Linked DNA regions of Homo sapiens: region 2 is linked to region 1. Evidence: promoter capture Hi-C in human tissues and cell types (Jung and others, 2019). All regions are on one chromosome and are shown on one strand. Each heading gives the region's core, a stretch centred on a gene start or on the middle of the fragment in contact. The rest is flanking DNA. Distances are from core to core; before and after follow the strand shown. Region 1 holds the start of QRFPR (pyroglutamylated RFamide peptide receptor). Region 2 overlaps LOC107986309 (a long non-coding RNA gene).

Region 1 (6,674 bases), core at 2,861-5,360:
CCCCTAGTCCAGAGAATTGGACTCATTTGTGAACCATTGCTCCTACAATGGGTTATGATTGGACATCTTCCCTTAGGTTTCCTTCAACAGTTACAATATGAACACATCCTTTTCAAATGCCCTTGGAGCATATACCAAAATATATAATATCCTTAGCAATAAAACAAACCTCAACAAATTTAAAAGAATGCAATTATACAGAGAATGCTCTTTGACCAAAAGGGAGTCAAACTAGAAAACAGAAAAATAGCAGAAAAATGTTCAAACACTTGGAAACTAAATAAGACATTTCTAAATAATCCGTGGGTCAAAAAAGACATTTAAAAGGAAATTAAAGAGTACATTGAACTGAATGAAAATGTAAATATAACACATAAAACATGTGGGACACAGTTAAGCCAGTGCTGAGAGGGAAATTTATGGCACTAAATGCTTACATTAGGAAAGAGAAAAAGTTCCAAGTCAATAATTAAAGTTTCCACCTCAAGAAACTAGAAAAAGAGTAGCAAAATAAACTGAAAGCAGGTAGAAGGAAGAAAATAATAAGGATAAGAGCAGATGTCAATAAAATTCAAGAGAAAATAATAGAGAAAATAATAGAGAAGTTGTTAGCTAAGAATTGTTTCTTTGTAACTAGCAATAAAATAGCCAAACCTCTAACTAGATTGACAAAAGAGAGAGAGAAGGCAAAAATTATAAAATCAGGAATGAGACAGGGGATACTCTTCAGCCATACAAAGGATATTAAGAGAATACTATTAACAACTCTACACACATAAATTCAAAAGAAATTTATCAATTCTTAAAAAAACTCACCCAATATGGAATAGATAATTTGAATATCACTATACTATTAACAAAATTAAATCCATCATTTAGGAACACCTGTAAAGGAACTCTTCATGCCCACATGGCTTCATTAGAGAATACTACCAAACATTTAAAGAAGAATTAATACCATTTCTACCAAACATTTAAAGAAGAATTAATACCATTTCTACACAGTCTTTTCCAGAAAATAGAAAAGGAGAGAATGCTTCTCAATTCATTCTATGATGCTATTATTACCTGACTGCCAAAACCAGGATAAAAAATACAAAAAGAAAAAAAAGTTACAGACCAATAGCCCTCATGAAGATATACATAAAATTCTTTAAAATCCTAACTAATAGAATTTAACAATATATATAAAGAATTACACACCACGACTAAGATGGGGTTTATTTCAAATATTCAAAGCTGATTCAATATTCAAAAGTCAATCAATGCAATTCACCATTTTAACAGGCTGAAGAAAAAAATCACATTGATAGTATTAATTGATGCAGAAAAATCATTTAACAAAATTTAACACCATTGATAGAATCTCTCAAGAAGTTGAGAATAGACAGTAACCTTCTCAAGTTGATAAAGAACATCTGCAACTAACATCATACTTAATGGTGAAAGAAGGCTGAATACATCCTTATAAGATTGAGGACAAGACAAGGATGATCTCCATTCTCCATTGCCATTTAACATAGTAAACTGTGTACTCCAACCATTGCAGTTAGGCAAAAAATAAAAAAAAAAAAAAACAAAAGAAAACAAAAACAACAACCAAACAAACAACAGCTAAAACCAGAAATAAAGAGCATACAAATCAGAAAGGAAGAAATAAAACTGTCTTTCTTCTCAGATAATGTGATTGTCTATGCAAGAAATCTACCAAAAAACCCTCTGTATTAGTCCATTTTCACACTGCTGATAAAGACATACCCAAGACTGGGCAATTTACAAAAGAAAGAGGTTTACTGGATTTACAGTCCCACATGGCTGGGAAGACCTCACAATCAAGGTGGAAGGCAAGGAGGAATAGGTCACATCTTACATAGATGGCAGCAGGCAAAGAGAGAACTTGTGCAGAGAAACTGCTGTTTTTAAAACCATCAGATCTCATGAGACCCATTCACTATCATGAGAACATCGTGGAAAGACCCACCCCCATGATTCAATCATCTCCCACTGGTCCCTCCCACAACACATGGGAATTATGGGAGCTACAAGATGAGATTTGGGTGGGGACACAGAGCCAAATCATATCAACCTCCTAATAAAATTAAGTGAATTCATCAACATTGGAGGAATCAAGATCAACATACGAAATAAATTGGATTTCTGCATACTAGTAATGAACACATGGAACCAAAAATTAGAAATTCAGTACAGTACCGTGTACAAATGTCCGCCCAAAATGAAATACTTAGGTGCAAATCTAAAAATATGTACAGGACTTACATGCTGAAAACTGTAAAATGCCTTTGAAATAAATCAAAGATGTAAATTTATGGAAAGACATTCTTCTCATGGATTGAAAAACTCAACCTAGTAAATATGTCAATTTCTATCAAAATCCCAGCAAGGTTTTTTGTAGACATAGACAAGTTGATTGTAAAATGTATATGAATAGGCACAGGTCCTAGAATAGTTACAATAATTTTGAAAAATAAGAATGAAGTATGAGAAATCATGCTACCTGATTTCAAAACTTATTATATAGCTACAGTAGTCAAGAATGTGGAGGATAGACACATAGATCAATTCAACAGAATAGAGAGCCCAAAACATAAAATGTAAAACTATAACACTTTTAGAAAAATACCTAAGAGAAAGTTTTTGAGAAATAGGCTTTGGTGAAGTTAGACTGAACACTAAAAGCTATCTATAAAAGAAAATATTGATAAATATGACTTCACTAAAACTAAAAGCTGTTCTGTGAAAGTCCCTGTTAAGAAGATAAATAACAAGCTACAGACTGGAAGAACATATTTGCAAACCGTTTACTAACAAAGGACTTGTATGTAGAATATAAAAAGAACTTTCAACAGCAAATAAACTAAACCATGCAATTAGAAACGGACAAAACACATGGAAAGACATTTCACCAAAGAAGATTCAAGGACGGCAAATAAGCACATGAGATGTTCAATATTACTTGCCATTAGGTAAATGTAAATTAAGGCCCTAAAGAGATATCACTACAGATCTATTAGAATAGCTTAAAAAAAAAAAGCAGCAAAACCAAATGCTGGCAAGGATGTGGAGAAACGTAACTTCTCATGCATTGATGGTAGAGATGGAGACTTGTACAGCCACTCTGAAAAGTAGTCAATCTCTTTAAAAATTAAATATACACATTACAGATTCAATAATCAAAACTTTTGGCATTTCCTATAGAAAGGAAAACTATGTTCACACAAAAACCTGTACATGATTCTTTATAGCAGCTTTATTTTTAATAGCTCAAAATGGTAATCAACCAAAATGTTCTACAAGAGGTGGATGGTTAAATAAACGGTGATACAGCCTCAGCAATAAAAAGAAACAGCCATTAATACATGCAACAACTTGGATGGATTTAAAGGGCATTAGGCTGAGCGAAGAAAATTCAATATCAAAAGGCAGCATATTGTATGATTTCCCTTACGTAATGTTCTGACAAAAGTTAAGAGAGAACATATTAGTGGTTGCCAGGAGTTAGAGATGGTGGAGGGAGGGGCTAGGTGTGAGTATAAAAAGCACCAGGGAGATTTTTGTGGTGATAGAAGAGTTTGTATCCTGACGGTTACGGGAATCTACACTTGAGATAAAAACATGCAAACACTGTACCTGTGTCAAATTCCTGGTTTTGTATTGTTCCGTAGTTAAATAAGATGTAATGAATGAAAGAAACTGGGTGAAGGGTGGGTACGCAGGATCTTTCTGTATTATCTTTGCCATTTCCCAAGTTCTATATTTTAACTATCTTAATTATTTTTCAATACAGAAAATAATTTAAAATAAGCCCTATTTGCCTTGGGTAGTTGTGGCTCCCATTATTACGCAAGAGGAGAAACTTGAAACTGTGGAACCCCCCAATACCCAGTTTCACATACAAGCATTACCTGACTGGGGCCATGCCCTGAGAAAGGCGCTGGGCGGCAGCAAGTTGGTGAGCCAGGGAAGTCTTCCCTCGCCCTGAGGGTGCGGGGAAGCGGCGTTGGCGCCACTGAAGCTGGGTGTGAGGGAGGCGTCACCGAGTTCAGCCCCACCCTCCACCGCTCCCCAAGCGGGTCCGGCGTCCGCATCGCATGGCCAGAAGGCGGGGAGCCAGAGGCGCCAGGACCCTCGCGTGGCGCTCCAGCACCCCAGACCGTGGCGGCGCCTCGCCTTAGGGAAGAGCAAGGGAAGAACTTTATTTGAACCGCGAACATTTTTTGGTCACTGAGATCGAGTCTCCCAGTGCTTTGGCTTCCCGCCTCTTTATCGTGGGTTTGATCCCTGAGCTGCTCTCCTTTCCCGAACCTCCCGGGGTGCAGCCTAGAGCCCTCCCGCGCGGCTGACTCCAGAGTAGAGGAAGGGAGGCGGCCTCCGGCTGGTCCCCCGAAGCCCTCGCTGCCCCGCAGATGCGGATGGCCAGCCAGTAGCGGGCGGTGGCCCCGCGTCCCGGGAGCGCACAGCAATGCAGGCGCTTAACATTACCCCGGAGCAGTTCTCTCGGCTGCTGCGGGACCACAACCTGACGCGGGAGCAGTTCATCGCTCTGTACCGGCTGCGACCGCTCGTCTACACCCCAGAGCTGCCGGGACGCGCCAAGCTGGCCCTCGTGCTCACCGGCGTGCTCATCTTCGCCCTGGCGCTCTTTGGCAATGCTCTGGTGTTCTACGTGGTGACCCGCAGCAAGGCCATGCGCACCGTCACCAACATCTTTATCTGCTCCTTGGCGCTCAGTGACCTGCTCATCACCTTCTTCTGCATTCCCGTCACCATGCTCCAGAACATTTCCGACAACTGGCTGGGGGGTAAGAGTCGCGCCCCGCTCCTTCGCTCCTTCTCTCTTAACCCTCTGCCTTTCAGGGGATCTCTCTCTCTCTCTCTCTCTCTCTCTCTCTCTCTCTCTCTCTCTCTCTCTCTCTCTCTCTCCTCTCTCGTCTGTCTGTCTCTCTCTCGTCTGTCTCTTCCTTACACTTCTCTGTCAAATGAATCCGGTGCTCTTTCTTAGAACTTCGCCACCTGTGTTCACCTGGACATAAGTTCTTTTGGCCGCCTCTGATTCCCCTCCAGTGCTTCCTCCTTGTGGCTTAGAGACATAGGTTGGGGAAAAGCTTCGGAAAGGTCCCGAGCAGTGAGGCAGGAAGTCGCACCCCTCGCCACTTATTTCAGCTCCCTTTCCCGTCATTACCAGGTTTTTCTCCCCTAGTTTTCTTACTAAAAGTGAGATAAAAATATTTCAAATAATTAAACCAAAGTTAAAAATCTCATTTCCTCATTCCCCCACCCTCCAGCCTCACTTCCCAGTTGCTTGCAGACAGCTTCTTGTACCTATGAGCATAAAACAAATATAATTCATGTGCAGAAAAAATATATTGAACTAGTCCTTTTAAAAACTGTATTAAGTGTCATGCAGGAAGAAGGAACACAGAAAACTGATGCCCTCCTATTATAAAAGAAGAGATAACATTCTCCTCCTTCCGTATAATGGGGGAAAAAAAATGACAGAGGAGAGGTGGAGTCACTGAGTTGGGAGCAGTGTGTGGAGGTTGGAAAAAAAGATATATTTCTTGAGATGATCCAGCTTTTCCAAGAACACAGCTGGAGAATGCCCTGGTGTAAACCCAGGAGCAGTAGTGTGTTGTATTCTCACCAGTGCTTAAGGTGCACCATGGGCCTCCCCTTTTTCACGGTTGGGTGTATTCTTGTGGCCACATCAAAATGGTTAGAAATGTAAGAGAAATAGATCATTATGCCTTCAATCTCTGCTATTTCTATCCCATTACTAATTCTCTTAAACTCATGGAGGGTGTTTCATCCTACCATTACCAATTTGAGATCGTGAGCATTGCTTTTTTTCTCATTAGCTTAAACTGAGTTTGCTGTTAGTCAGTCAGAATGTTAAAGTCCTTGATTCTTATCAATCTATAATGTAAATATTTTCAAAAAAGCATTAAACATTGAGTACAGAGCATTGACTTGAAAGTAATACACAATGTGGAAAGTAAGACCTTGATTTATGGATTAGAGACTTTCTTATGCACTCTGATGCAGTAATTGTATTTGGGCATTTTAAAGTTGCTCAGTGCAACTAACTCCATAAAATTAATGGGGTATTTTTTGATCATCATACGGAACTTGGTTTTTGGGGAAAAGCACATGAGTTTTCATTTCTAAATGTTTGTGAAAGCAGATTTATGAGGCTTCTTTGTGCTGGGGATGATTATAGCTCCATTTGTAAAGGTGAAAATAATTATGCAAAGTGGGATTTTATGGTGGGGATCAAAAGAACTGGATTACTATTTTGGCTGTAATACATGTTAATTTAGTATGTCTGGGTCTCAATTTTTCAGTAAAATATTAGGGATTAGAGAAGTTTGAAAGTGCAGTGAGTCTGGCCAGGCGTGGTGGCTCACGCCTGTAATCCCAACACTTTGGGAGGCCGAGGCGGGCGGATCACGAGGTCATGAGATCGAGACCATTCTGGCTAACACGGTGAAACCCCGTCTCTACTAAAAATACAAACAACAACAAAAAATTAGCCGGGCATCGTGGCACGCACCTATAGTCCCAGCTGCTCAGGAGGTTGAGGCAGGAGACTTGGCTTGACCCCGGGAGGCAGAGGTTGTAGTGAGCCGAGATCACGCTACTGCACTCCAACCTGG
Region 2 (6,805 bases), core at 3,642-6,141, 56 kb before region 1:
AAAGAGAGAAGAGAAAATTAGAGAAAAAAGAATAAAAAGGAACAAAGCCTCCAAGAAATATGGGACTATGTGAAAAGACCAAATCTACATTTGATTGGTGTACCTGAATGTGACGAGGAGAATGAAACCACAAAGGGAAGCCCATCAGACTAACAGCAGATCTCTCTGCAGAAACCCTACAAGCCAGAAGAGAGTGGGGGCCAATATTCAACATTCTTAAAGAATTTTCAAGCCAGAATCTCATATGCATCCAAACTAAGCTTTATAAGCAAAGGAGAAATAAAATCCTTTACAGACAAGCAAATGCTGAGGGATTTTGTTACCACCAGGCCTGCCTTACAAGAGCTCCTGAAGGAAGCAGTAAAAATGGAAAGGAACAACCGGTACCAGCCACTGCAAAAACATACCAAATTGTAAAGAACATTGACACTATGAAGAAACTGCATCAACAACCATCTAGCATCATAATGACAGGATCAAATTCACACATAACAATATTAACCTGTAATGTAAATAGGCTAAATGCCCCAATTAAAAGACACAGAATGGCAAATTGGATAAAGGGTCAAGACCCATCGGTGTGCTGTATTTAGGAGACCCATCTCACGTGCAAAGACACACATAGGCTCAAAATAAAGGGATGGAGGAAAATTTAACAAACAAATGGAAAGCAAAAATTATTGCTGTTTTTAGTGTAACAAATAAACTAAACTGAGGAACAAAAGGTTTCTTTAAAAATATCTTCACTTTAACTTTTTAAATATTTTTCACATCTTTGAGTGATGCATACTAATTAATCAGAAGAAAATAATGAGCTTTTCATCAAAGTATATAAAACTGAACTAATAATGTGCTAGCTATTCCCCTTTGGCTTTTAGTCTCAATTGAGATTAATTGTTCCTGCAAAAATTCAGGGAAAGGGGGTTTTGATTGACTTCGTTTTAGTATTTTGTCTTTGGATTCTCAAATATACTGAACCATTAATCAGAATATTATCAAGCCTGGGTCTCCTACATGAGAAAATAAGAAATTATGTAGACACAGTAGTTAAATTCTCCCCACTAAGCAGAAGAAACAATTGAATTTAATTTCTGATTGCTCTTGTAATATTTCCCACAGCTCCAAGAACACTGGAAATACAATGGAGCTTTGATGAATAAATCTTTTAGGAATGAGATTCATTTACCAAAGAGGTTTTTAAAAAATAGTTCAATTTAAAATTAATACATCATTTAAAGCAAAGTTGTGGTCAAATTCCTGTGTAGGGTCTAGTAGATGCTCCCAGCTGAAGGTTTCCAAATTTAAGCTAGATAAAATCGTAATTTTCAAATTTTATCTTCTATTTGTACATTTTGTTCTTTGTCTCATAAGGAAAAAAAATGTGTTTTCTATTTTCTGTATTTTTCTATGGCAAAATATGAAATATTTTGATATCATTAATGAAAATACTGGACTTTATTTCCCCTTTGGACCCTTACATTCTGTACAATCTGTATTGGATATCTATAAGCAGATAGAAAACTGGTGACTCAGGCAAGATTCTTTGAATCACATTTGTACAGTTAGAGGTAAATTCCTGAGAGCTATGAGGAGAAAAGATGTCTTTCTTTTAAGTTTTGAAATCTGGGGCTGTTCTTTTTCACCACAGCTCGGTGTTCCAGAGGATCTCTCTTTCTAGGTCTTCTCCTAGCCTCTTTCCCGTTTCTTTCTGCTGCCACTGAGACTGAAGCACAGGCCACTGGCAGCAACTCTGCTGTCCTAGCAGTTGGGCTGCCATGCATTTACATGTACCTTGAGGATAGGCTCCTCACCTGCAACTGCTGCCTAGGGCCAAAGCAGGTGCTCTCAGCTGTCTGCCAATAGCTGTTGTCACTGACAGCAATTCCACTCTCCCCAGCAGCAAGGCCACAGAAAACATGCATGTGCCCTGAGGGAAGGCTTTCCCTGCTCATTGCTGCTGCTGCTGCCCTCATCTGAACATTTCACTGGAAACCCGGAAATCTCCTTGTCCCTACCTACTGCAGCCAGAGCCCATATGCACCACCTGAGGGCCCAAAGACAGGCCCACCTCACCTGGCTCCAACTGCCAGTGCCCAAGCACTTCACCTGGGGCCTGATGATGGACCTACCCAGACTGCCTCTACCACTACAGCTGGTACCTATCCTCACATGCCACCTGCAGACCTGAGGCTGAGCCTGTCCAGCCCACTGTTGCCACAGCTGGCACCCAAGCAAACCACATGGAGCCCAAGAATCAGCCTGCTTGGACCCACTAACACCAGTGCAGAGTATGTTGTTGCCCTAAGGCCCAAGGACAGGCATACTAAGCCCACTGCTTCCACCATTTGGGTCCAAGGACAGGCCCACTTGGCATCACCATCTCGAGCAAAACTTCACCACAGCCTCTACTAACAAGTTTACCCTAAGTGACTGAGGAAATCACAGACAGCACTGATGCTATTTATAACTGAAGGAATTATACAGAGACTACACTACTGCAGACACCCAGAATCAAAGTCAAACTGCTATACCCAACCAAAATCATAGATATATCTTCAGGGAAAAGTCCTCCCCTATGAAAGTAAACCCAAAAAACTAGAAGAAGTAACTATTATACCAGAAGTACAGTTATCAGTGTAAAGACACAAGAAATATATTTAAAAAGGAAATATGATGTTTCCAAAGGAAAACAATAATTCCCCAGAAACAGATTCTAATAAAAAAGAATTTAGGAAATGCCAAAAAAAGAACTTAAAATAATGATATTAAAGGACCTCAGTGAAATATAAGAGAACACAGATAAATAATACAAAGAAATTGTAAAAACTATTTAAGATGTGGATGAGAAATTTACCAAATAGATAGATACCATAAAAAAGAACAAAACAGAAATTCTGGAACGCAAGAATTTATTGAATAAAATAAAAAATACATTTGAGAGCTTTAACAGTAGACTACATCAAGAAAGAAGGAATATTAGAACTTTAAGGGAGGTCTTTTGAAATAAACTGGTTAGACAGAATTAAAGAAAAAAGAGTTAAAAAGAATGAACAAAGACTATGTGACATATAGGGCACCATAAAATGACCAAATATAAAAATGTTTAGTATTCCTTAAAGTGAAGAGAAAACCAAAGGGATTTTAAAAAGCCTATTTATTGAAATAATAGCTTAAAAACAACCAAAGTCTAGCAGGAGATTGAGACATCTAAATATAGGCAGCTCAGGCATGACCAGATAGATACAAACTAAAAAGGCCTTCTCCAGAGCACATTACTGTCAACTGTCAAAAGTCAAGGACAAAGAGATAATTCTAAAGCCAGCAAGAGGAAAGTGTCTAGTCACTCTTAGGGGAATTACCATCAGACCCTACAGATTTCTCAGCAGAAACCCTTCAGAACAGAAGAGAATGTGATAATATAATCAAAGTGCTGAAAGAAAACCACCTATCTGCTAAGGATATTACACTAGCAAATTTATCCTTCATAAATGATGGAGAAATAAAGTCTTCTCTAGATAAGCAAAAGCTGAATGAATACATCACCACTAGACTGGCCCTTCGAGAAATGCTTCAGGGAGTCCTACATCTGGAAGTAAACGAACAATATCTACCACCGTAAAAACACACGAAAATATTAAACTCACTGGTAGAGCACACACAAATAAGGAATAAAAAGAACTCAAATGTTATCACTACAGGAAACCATGAAACTACAATGATAAACAATAAGAAAGAACGGAACAACGGATACACAAAACAACCAGAAAACAATAAAATGACAGGAATAAGCCTTCACATATCAATAATAACCTTGAAGGTAAACAGATTAAACTTTCCATTTAAAAGACATACACTGGCCAGGCATGGTGGCTTATGCTTGTAATCCCAGCACTTTGGGAGGCCAAGGTGGGTGGATCACTGAGGTCAGGAATTTGAAACCAGCCTGGCCAACATGGTCAAACCCTGTCCCTACTAAAAATACAAAAAAAAAAAAAAAAAAAAAAAAAAAAAAAGATGGGACTTGTGGCAGGTGCCTGTAATCCCAGCTACTAGAGAGGCTGAGGCAGGATAATCATTTGAACCCAGGAGGTAGAGGTTGCAGTGAGCTGAGCTCATGCCACTGTACACTAGCCAAACAACAGAGCAAGACTCTGTCTCAAAAAAAAAAAAATACAGGCAGGCTGAATGGACCAAAATGAAAAACAAAAAACCCAACTATGTGCTGCCTACAAGAAACTTACCTCATCTGTAGAGACACATACACATAGACTGAAAGTAAAGAGGTAGAAAAAGATATTCCATGTAAATGGGCAACAAAATGTGAGCAGGAGTAGCTATAGTTATATCAGATAAAACAGATTTTAAGTCAAAAATAGTAAAAAGAGACAAAGAAGGTAATTATATCATGATAAAGTAATCAAGTAAGCAAGAGGATATAACAATCTAAACAGAGATATAACCAATATTTGAGCACTCAGATATATATATATATACATATGTATACATATATATATGTGTGTATATATATATATATGTATATATATATATAGCAATTATTTATCAGCGAAGAGAGAACTGAGAAGGAGAAAGGGAAAAAGAAGGCATTTTTTCAAAGGAATCCCAGGGGTTCAGGATGCATTTGAAAGGGGTACAGACTGAAGATGAATGGCTTCCTATCTAGAAAGAGGGGAGCAGGTATGCCTGGTTCCCTTCTCTTCCTAGCAGATACCCAGGGTACATGAGGGAGAGAGGGAAGAGTATCCTCTTTCCCTCTTCCATTCCCAAGTCCCAGCGAACTTGGCAGGTGCCGCCACGGGTGTTAAAGTGACTTGCACCCATGAAGCAGGGGGGCCTAGAAGGTGGAAATCGTCTGCTTTTACCCACATACACCGTATTTCTCCTGGTTTCAGTAGCCTTGAATTCCCTAGACCTCATTTATGCCACAGATACTAACATGGCCTTTATCCATGAAACAAGAAGCTTGGGTTTGGCTTTATTGGCAGGAATCAGCCATGTTTACTTGCACTGTGCCTTTTAACTTCTATTGTCATCTGCCTCTGGATCCCTTAGATCCAGTTTTCTTTCCTAGGGCTTTGACCTGAAGTTTAGAATTGAGTTTGGGACAAAATGTGTCTCATGGTGGTTGCTGGACTCCTTATCATAAGCCAAATGTTAAGGTGAAACTGTGTCTGATAAAGGATAAATAACCAGAATATGTAATTAGCTCAAACAACTCTATAGGAAAAAACAAATGATCTGATTAAAATATGGGCAAATGATCTGAATAGACATTCCTAAAAAAAAAAACTTACAAATGGCAAACAGATATATGAAAAGATGCTCAACATAATTGATCATCAGAGAAATGCAAATCAAAACTACAATGAGATATCATCTTACTAATTAAAATGGCTTTTATTCAAAAGACAGGCAATAAGAAATGCTGACAAGGACACAGAGAAAGAACTCTCATACACTGTTGGTATGAACATAAATTAGTACAATCACAATGGAGAACAGTTCAGAGGTTCTTCAAACAACTAAAAGTAGAACTATCATATGATCCAGGAATTCCATTGTTAGGCATACACCCAAAAGAAAGGAAATTAGTATATTGAAGAAATATCTGTACTCTCATGCTTATTACAGCACTATTCACAATAGCCAGGATTTGGAAGCAACCTAGGTGTCCATCAACAGATAACAAGATAAAGAAAATGTGGTATGTTTACACAATGGAGTAGTATTCAGCCATAAAAAATAATGAGATCCTGTCATTTGCAACAACATGGATGGAACTGGAGGACATTATAATAAGTGAAATTAGCCAGGCATAGAAGACATATTTTTCATTTTTCACTTAATTGTGGAAGCTAAAAATTAAAACAGTTGAACCCACGAAAAATAGACAGTAGAATGATGGTTACCAGAGACTGGGAAACGAGTGGCAGGAGGAATTGAGCACAGCTAATTGGTACAAAAACATAGTTAGATAGAATGAATAAAATCTAGTATTTGATAGCACAACAGGGTGACTACAGTCAATAATTTGTTGTATATTTAAAAGAGTATAATAGAATTGTTTATAACACAAAGAAAAAATAATTGCTTGAGGTGATGGATATCTAATATGGTTTGGTTCTGTGTCCCCACCCAAACTCATCTTGTAGCTCCCATAATTCCCATGTGTTGTGAGAGGGACCCAGTTGGAGATGACTGAATCCTGGGTCCAGGTCTTTCCCATCCTCTTCTTATGATAGTGAATAAGTCTCACAAGATCTGATGGCTTTGAAAAAAATGGGAGTTTCCCTGCACAAGCTCTCTTCTCTTATCTCCTGCCATGTGAGACATGCCTTTCACATTCCACCATAATTGTGAGTCATTCGCAGCCACATGGAACTGTAAGTCCATTAAACGTTTTTTACTTCAGTCTCGTGTATGTCTTTATCAGCAGTATGAAAGCAGATTAATACGTAAATTGGTACTAGCAGAGTGGGGCGTTGCTGAAAAGATACCCAAAAATGTGGATGCAACTTTGAAACTGGTTAACAAGCAGAGGTTGAAATTGTTTGGAGGGCTCAGAAGAAGACAGAAAAATGCAGGAAAGTGTGGAGCTTCCTAGATGCTTGTTGAATGGCCTTGAACAAAATCCTGATAGCGATATGGACAATAAGGTTAGGGCTGAGGTGGTCTCAGATGGAAATAAGGAACTTGTTGGGAATTGGAGCAAAGGTGACTCTTGTTATGTTTTAGCAAAGATACTGGCAGCATTTTGCCCCTGCTCTAGAGATTTGTGGAAATTTGA

What was found. Contacts are between HindIII fragments. The study calls those that stand out against the background at their distance.
Region 2: a contact is called between a fragment that was not itself captured here and the fragment with the promoter of QRFPR in region 1, in 1 of the 25 tissues and cell types used here (H1 embryonic stem cells).

Annotation. Positions count from the first base shown.
Region 1 is chr4:121,378,454-121,385,127 of GRCh38, reverse strand. It overlaps QRFPR (pyroglutamylated RFamide peptide receptor), which reads left to right and starts at 4,110. Exons shown (of 6, transcript NM_198179.3): 1 at 4,110-4,820. The coding sequence starts at 4,481. RefSeq lists an enhancer at 3,540-4,324. The HindIII fragment of the contact is 9,664 bases long and covers 1-6,674 here.
Region 2 is chr4:121,434,990-121,441,794 of GRCh38, reverse strand. All of the region lies in intron 1 of LOC107986309 (a long non-coding RNA gene), which reads right to left. Among named protein-coding and RNA genes, the nearest start is that of QRFPR, 57 kb to the right of the region's middle. The HindIII fragment of the contact is 4,542 bases long and covers 2,621-6,805 here.